2 separate regions of the Homo sapiens genome follow, and region 1 is linked to region 2. The links are contacts of gene promoters, found by promoter capture Hi-C in human tissues and cell types (Jung and others, 2019). All regions are on one chromosome and are shown on one strand. Each heading gives the region's core, a stretch centred on a gene start or on the middle of the fragment in contact. The rest is flanking DNA. Distances are from core to core; before and after follow the strand shown. Region 1 has its middle 23 kb from the start of MBOAT4. Region 2 holds the start of DUSP4 (dual specificity phosphatase 4).

Region 1 (4,040 bases), core at 1,464-3,963, 770 kb after region 2:
TACTGGGGGTTAGGATATGAATTTTAGGGGAATACTACTCAGCCCATAACATCTATATACGAAAATATTAACTAGGTATTTTTAAAATATGGAGAGTTTTTTCGTGATTTTTTTATAAAAATGCTTTTAAGTTGGGCCTGGCGGCTCATGTCTATAATCCCAGCACTTTGGGAGGCCGAGGTAGGTGGATCACTTCAGGACAGGAGTTCAGGACCAGCCTGGCCAACATGGCAAAATGCCGTCTCTGCTAAAAATACAAAAACTAGCAGAGCGTGGTGGCGTATGCTTGTAATCCCAGCTACTAGGGAGGCTGAGGCAGGAGAATCACTTGAACCTGGGAGGCAGAGGTTGCAGTGAGCCGAGATGCCACTGCACTCCAGACTGGGCAACAGAGTGAGACTCCATCAATAAATAAATAAATAAATAAATAAATAAATAAATAAATAAATGTATGTTTTTAAGGCTGCACATTAAACTACCTCAAATAAAATAATAAAATTATAATTGATTGTCATTATTACTAATGAGTTTTGCCCCAAGCAAGTTTCTGAAAAGGGTCCAAATAGCTCATCCCTTTGAAGCAGATTCTGAGTTGGAAAATCTGTTAACAGTTGCTTCCTCCATAACAAACATAAAAGAACAGCATGGATCCAGATCTCCCCCAGCCATTTGGGGAGAAATAGAAGAATAAGAACTATCATAAGACTGCATGTGCATAAGATGTTACATGATACTCTTTTAGTTGTAAAATATAAAGAGGGCAAAATGTAAATGGTCGCTTAATAAGTTGTATGTATTTGTATATGCATATATATATATGTATATATTTTTTTAACTCTGGTAACAAAATACATAACATGAAATCTACCATCTTTGTTTAATTTTGTTTCTGAGATGGGTTCTTTCTCTGTCACCCAGGCTGGAGTGCAGTGGTGCAATCTCAGTTCACTGCAACCTTCGCCTCTCCGGCTTGAGCAATCCTCCTGTCTCAGCCTCCCATGTAGCTGGGACTACAGTCATGAGCCACCATGCCTGGCTAATTTTCGTATTTCTTTTTAGAGATGAAGTTTTGCCATGTTACCCAGGCTGGTCTTGAACTCCTGGGCTCAAGTGATCCACCAGCCTTAGCCTCCCAAAGTGCTGGGATTACAGGCATGAGCCACCACACCCAACTGTTTTGTTTTTCTTTTCAAACAGGATTGGCTGAAATACCATCTTAAATTATTAAGTGTACACTTCAGTATTGTTATATACCCGCATAATTCTATACAGCAGATCTCTAGAACTTTTTCATCTCGCATGACAAACTCTACTCCCATTCCCCCTGCTCCCAGCCCCTGGCAGCCACCATTCTACTCTGTTTCTGTAAGTCTGACTCCTCTAGGTACCTCCTATGGAATCATATAGCGTTTGTTCTTCTGGGACTGGTTGATAAGCTGTATATTGTTTACTGATTCCCATCCCCTTTTATCTCAGGAGCCTTGAAACTACATTTACTCGATTCTCTTACCTCCAGGGTTCTGTGTTTCATCTACATATTGTGTTTTGTGTGTTTTGTTGTTTATTGTTTTTGGGGTTTTGTTTTTGTTTTTGTTTTTGTTTTTGTTTTTTTTGAGATGGACTCTCACTCTGTCGCCCAGGCTGGAGTGCCGTGGCTCCATCTTGGTTCACCACAACCTTGGCCTCCTGGGTTCAAGTGATTCTCCTGCCTCAGCCTCCCAAGTAGCTGGGATTACAGGCACCCGCCACCACGCCAGGCTAATTTTTTGTATTTTCAGTCGAGATGGGTTTTCGCCATGTTGGCCAGGCTGGTCTCCAACTCCTGAGCTCAAGTGATCCGCCCACCTCAGCCTCCCAAGGTGCTGGGATTACAGGTGTGAGCCATCACGCCCAGCCTAGATATTGTTAATAAAATAAACTCATGAGATGACTTGGAAACCTGAAGGAAAGCAAAAGACATCCTTCCTCTGCCAGCAGTGGTATGTGGGCTTTGGTGTGTTTTTTCTGGGGCTGACAAGACTCTATTGCACTGCTTTTTACCCAATGCAGGGATGTGTGATTCTGGCAGTGGTTTCTTGGCCTCTGGATGGCAGTAGAAATGTCCTGGCCTCTGGATTAGGGGTGTGGGGTCTAACAGGAAAGCTGGTGGAGAGCTCCTTACCTTCTGCTCCCCTAAGCATTCCAGTGATTTCTTTTTTGTTTTCTTTTTATCTTTAAAAAAAAATTAGGCTGGCACAGTGGCTCACCCCTGTAATCCTAGCACTTTGGGAGGCCAAGGTGGGCAAATCACTTGAAGTCAGGAGTTCGAGACCAGCCTGGCCAACATGGTAAAACCCCATCTCTACTAAAAATACAAAAAATTAGCTGTACGTGGTGGCACGCGCCTGTAATCCCAGCTACTCAAGAGGCTGAGGCAGGAGAATCGCTTGAACCCGGGAGGCCGAGGTTTCAGTGAGCCGAGATCATGCCACTGCACTCCAGCCTGGGCAACAGAGCGAGACTCCCTCTCAAAAAAAAAAAAAAATTAACTTTAGGTGTCAAGGTAATTCAATGTGGAAAGAATCACCTCTTCCAGATGATTCTGCTGGGATAACTAGATATCCACATGCAAAGGAATGAAATTGGACCCCTACTTCACTCTATATTCAAAAATCACTCAAAATTTTTATGTAGAGTCAGGGTGTCACTATGTTGACCAGGCTAGTCTCAAACTCCTGTCCTCAAGCAATCCTCCCACCTCAGCCTCCCAAAGTACTGGGATTATTGGCCTGTACCACTTCACCCAGTCTAGTATTTTCATATAAACTTTAGAGTTAGTTTGTCAATTTCTATTTTTAGAAACTTTTGGGAGGGCCAGGCATGGTGGCTCACGCCTGTAATCCCAACACTTTGGGAGGCCAAGGCAGGTGGATCACTTGAAGTCAGGAGTTCAAAACCAGCCTGGCCAACATGGTGAAACTCCGTCTCTACTTAAAATACAAAAAAAATTTAGCCAGGTGTGGTGGTGCATGCCTGTAATCCCAGCTACTCGGGAGACTGCGGCAGGAGAATCCCTTGAACCTAGGAGGTGGAGGTTGCAGTGAGCTGAGATCGCGCCACTGCACTGCAGCATGGGCAACAATGCAAGACTCTCTCCCAAAAAAACTTTTGGGAGTTTAATTGGGATTGCATTGAAGCTATAGATCAATTTGGGGAGAATGAATCTTAACAATTGTAACAGTTACCTATTGCAGCATAGCAAACCACCCAAAACCTATTGACTTAAACCAATAATCATTGGTTCAGCTCACAAATCTGTAATTTGGTCCTGTCTTAACAGTACGTGTTTGTCTGCTCCACATGGTGTCAGCTGGGGGTTGGTGGATCATCTCCCAAGATGGTTCACTTACATAGCTGGCAATTGGTGCTGGATGTCTAAATGGGAGCTCAGCTAGTATGAAGGCCAGGGGTCTCTGCTCCTCTCCATATAAAACTCTGCCTCTCCATGGCAATGTGGCTTTCTTACATCCATTCCAAGAGTGTGAATCATCCCAAGAAAACCAGTCAGAAGTGTATGGATATTTTATGACCTACCTTAGAAGTCACGAAGCATCACTTCTGCCATACTCTAGTGGTCAACCCAGTTGTGTAAATGTCCCCCCAGGTTCAAGGGGAATGACCGTAGACCATTCAATGGGAAGAGTGTTAATGTTACATTGTAAGAAAAGCATATGGGAGGGAATATATTATGGTGTCCATCTTTGGAAAATGCAATCTGCCACAACAATATTGAGTATTTCAATCAATGAACATGATATATCTCTCAATTTATTGAGGTTTGCAACATCTCTCAGCAGTGTTTCATAGTTTTCCAAGTACAAGTCTTGCAGTCATTTTACTACATTTATTCCTAAATATGTCAGGTTTTCTCATGTCATACTAGCATTCCTCTGTTTCGCTCCGTCTCTCTCTCACTCACACACACATACATATACACACATACAAACCTCAAGTATGAAGTATGTTTGCATGGTTCCCATGTCTATACTTATTCCTGCTTA
Region 2 (3,878 bases), core at 1,214-3,713:
GGAACATCCCGGCCAGCCCCGGCCATTCGAGGGGACTTGCGTCCCAGAGGAATTGCCCTCATCTCTCCCACCAGCGCCGACAAGCTCAAACAATGGCGCGGACGCCCACCCTGGTGGCCTAACCAGGACCTGGCCCCGCTCAGCCGCCAGGCCTTCCGGGACAAGCCCCTTCCTGGCACTTTCTCTTGGAGCGCTTTGGGGAGAAGGGAGGGGGACTGGGCTCATTTGGAGGAGCAAAAGACAGCCCTCGCGGAAAAAGAAAGAAAAATCAGCAAAATCGCCTTAGCAGTTCAACCAAAGGTCAACAGCAGCGTTTCCCCAGCAGCTGACAGGTCAAATGGGCAGGAAACAACTGCGGGGAACAAAGCCCCCCGCTGTCCGGCAGGGGCGAACCCGGCTCCTCCGCACTGAACAGTTTTGTTGTGCTTTTTGGAGGGGAGAGGTTTCCGCCCCCTTTCCAGCTCCCTTCCTCCCGGGTGGACAGGTCGGAAGAGGAGCGGAAAGGAAAGGAAGGGAGGGAGGCGGCGAAGGCGCCTGCGGGGGGGAGGAGCGGCTCTTTGATGGGTGTGGGGGGGTCTGAACTGCCTACCGGGCTCGGAAGCGCAGACCCTACCCGCGCGGAAGAATGCGCGGAATGCGGCGGCGGGAGGCGGAGGCGCAGCGCGGCGGGGGGCGCCCGGACCCCACGCGCCCTGCCCGCTCCCTAGCCCGAGGGCCGCGGACCCACCCTGCCCTGCAGGTGTGGCGGGCGCCAGGTCCCTCCAGGGACTCGGACAGCACGCGATTTTTCCAGGATTTCCGACTACCAAATGTGACAAGACAGTCTCGCCGCCGAGAGTTTCGCCAGGGCTCGCTAAAATCCGGCACGCGCCGCCATCAGATAGTCGAAAATCCGGGCTGAACAAAAGGTGATCATTCTCCGCTGCCCGGATTTGCAGGCGCTAGAGGACCGGTTCCGCCCGGCGTCCCCCAGATACCCAGTCCTTCAGCCTCCCGCTCCCAGAGCCTGGATCTAGCCCGGGACGGGGATTGGCCACCTTCCAAGCTGAGCTTGGAGTTGGGCAGCGGGAACGCAGATACAGATCGCTCTACACAGTGTGTGCAACCCAATCTCCCTTTCTGCATTTGCCAGGGTCTTGTTTTCAGTGAAACTGGCAAGGCCAATTGTACCTCGGCGCCCACCCCTCTTCACCTTTTCTCCACCTCTGGGATTCTCCCGGTCCGGCTCAGTGTAGGGCCCCAGCACGCCAAACCAACAGGCCTATCTTGTCCCCACGCGCCCCGTGGTACTTGGAAACTGTTCCCGGGACTCAAGATGGACCGCGCAGAGGAGTCGCTTCATCCTCGAGGCTAGGACCGTTAATGTCAATAAACGGGGCCTCGCTAGGACGGTGCGGAATTGCAGGTGACCGGAGAAACCCGTCCGCACTTTCCCTGAGGACTTGAACCTCGCACTTGCACAGAAACCTTGCAAACCCCTACACACCAACACACACAAAGGGGCGCGCGGGGATCCCCGCAACCACGAATCACGCCGGGGACTCCTTCCCGTGCCAATAAGGCGCAGGCCGCCAAGACCCCCTCCATCTCCCCGACTCCAGCTAGCGCCCGGAGCCCTCGTTTACCTTTGAGCAGGCAGATGTCGGTGCGCTCGGCGTTGCGGCGCAGCGCCTGCACCACCAGCGACACGGTGCTGTCCTCGCGGAGGCTCTCGGCGCGCGGGCTGCGCTCGTCGTAGACGATGACCGCCGAGTAGAGGCCGGAGCGCAAGCGGGCGCGTACCTCCTCCTCGGCGGGCAGGATCTGCTCCAGGCTCACGGAGCCCTTAGCCCGCCGCCGCACGATGGTGTTACAGCGCACGTTGACCGAACCTAGGATGTAGCCCGCGCTGTGCGCCAGGAACGGTCTGCAGTCCAGCAGCAGGCACTTGCCGCCGCTCGGCAGCCCCAGGGTGCCGTGGCTGCCGCTGCCGCCCGCGCCGCCGCCATTCTCGTCCCGGTTCATCAGCCTTTTGAGCACACTGCAGTCCATCTCCCGCAGCTCCTCCATCGTCACCATGGTCGCCGGGAACCGAGGCGGCTGGGCGCGCGAGGAAGAGAAGAGAACCCGGGCCGCCTAGGCTGCAGAAAGGGGCGGGCGAGAGCTAAGAAGGGACGCCTGCAGAAGTGGCCGCAAACTTGGTCCTCAAGGGCTCCCGCGGGAGAGCCTCTTCTTCCCTGTCCCCTTCCTCCCGCAGCCTCGCGGTCACATAGCAGTCGGAGCGGCCTCGGGCGCCCAGCCGGGCGGCGCGCAGAGCGGAGGGGGAGGCGCCGGTGGAGGAGAGTGTGTTTACGAGAGAGGACCGCGGACTCTTTTCGGCGACGGCCTCCCGTGTATTTTTGCCGGTCGCGCGGCTCCTGTCGCCACTGGCGCCAGCGCTGCCCTGCCTACGCTCCTCCGGCGCTCAGCGCACTGCCCCAGCCAGAGTTTTCTCCTCGGCTTAGAGGTTTATTAATGCTCCTCCGCGCTCCCGGGGGAGGGGGCGCTAGGTACTACCCCGCCAGGCCCCGCCCCGTTCCATTCCGGGCCCCGCGCCGTCCCCCGCCCCCCGCGCTGTCCCCCGCCCCCCGCGCTGACTCCCCGCCCCCTCCGGGCCCCTCCTCCCACCCCCTCCCCGGAGCTTGAATGGAGCGCGGCCGCTGGCTCCCGGTCACGGGAACTCGACGTCACAAAGAGCGGAGTAAACAGGGCGCCGGGTGCTCGCCATCAGGCCCATTCATAAAACCGAGGCCGAGAGGAAGAGGGAGGCGGCCTCCGACCCGCCGCCAGCGGCGGGCAGCGCCCGGACTTTGTGAATGGAGCGCGCGGCGCCTTTCGCCGTCTACCCGCGGGCCCAGCCTGCGCCGCGCCTCCAGCCCGACACCGGCACCTGTGCCGCCGCTGCACCCCGCCGCTAGGCGGGCGGCGCCAAAGGAAATAGCCGGCTGAGGAGGCCAGGGCTCGGGTTTGAGCTTTCATCCCTTGGCACCTTCGCGCTTCCCCGCGTGACAGCCCCGTAGGTTTTTCCCGGTTACCCAAGTGGAGAGGGGACCGGAGCGCTGCTGCCCACCCAGCGGGGCCTGACACCTCCTAGCCCCAGACTCCCCGTGCGCTTTCGGCCCGGCCAGTCCTTTCTGAATATGCGATTCCTGAGACGTTAGCGTATGCATTAGCGTGATCGATTTTCATCTAAAGCCATTAAATCAGTTTTATAGCTTCCCCAAGAACGTGGGCAACCCCCTGCTTGGAAGATGAAAGAGAAAGTCCTCCCGCCCGAAGCCCAGGATCGGAGTGAGGTGTGGGGTTTGTTGCTTTACTACCCAAAGGGAGGCATTAATTGCCGGAATGGTGTTCCGAGGGAGGAGAGCAGGCTGCGCTCCTGTCCACGCTTCCTAAAAGATGTTTATTTAACCCTGGTCGGGGGAAAAACAAGGTTTTCGGGTTTGGGAAACGTCTTCACCCTATCTTGCATAGTTGTGAATTATCCTTTCAGGAAATGACAGGGTCCACATTTGTTGCGGAGCTGGACCCTGGAAAATGTACCCGCAAAGAATGACCTTTTGAAAGGACTTCAGCAGCTCTGGGTCCGATTCATGTTTCTGGGCATCCCTTTTTCCTGGTCACGTAGCAGCCCTCCCCATCCCCATTTCTCTTTTGCATTTAATTTCCCAGAGGCGGCTTTTGGCTGGGGGTTTGTGCACGCACGCGGTGGGGACCGTGCAGAAGCCAAAAATCATTCGCCCGACATCTTGCCAAGTCTTGTTAGTGAGAATTAATCACAGAGCAAGGGAGTTACAGGACTCGCTCGCAGTTTCGGAGGCTGCAGAGTAGCGTATTCCATTCCGGGGCGCGCGTGGAAG

The links. Contacts are between HindIII fragments. The study calls those that stand out against the background at their distance.
Region 1: a fragment that was not itself captured here is called in contact with the fragment with the promoter of DUSP4 in region 2 in 1 of the 25 tissues and cell types used here (spleen).

The regions. Positions count from the first base shown.
Region 1 is chr8:30,119,658-30,123,697 of GRCh38, forward strand. It overlaps a transcript of LEPROTL1 not described here. Among named protein-coding and RNA genes, the nearest start is that of MBOAT4, 23 kb to the right of the region's middle. The HindIII fragment of the contact is 9,935 bases long and covers 1-4,040 here.
Region 2 is chr8:29,348,221-29,352,098 of GRCh38, forward strand. DUSP4 (dual specificity phosphatase 4) reads right to left here and starts at 2,464. Exons shown (of 4, transcript NM_001394.7): 1 at 1,626-2,464. The coding sequence starts at 2,058. LOC124901924 (a long non-coding RNA gene) reads left to right here and starts at 2,754. Exons shown (of 2, transcript XR_007060876.1): 1 at 2,754-3,314. RefSeq lists silencers at 582-751, 2,322-2,641, 2,832-2,971 and enhancers at 1,462-1,963, 1,492-1,641, 1,964-2,463, 3,162-3,231, 3,272-3,381. The HindIII fragment of the contact is 25,056 bases long and covers 1-3,878 here.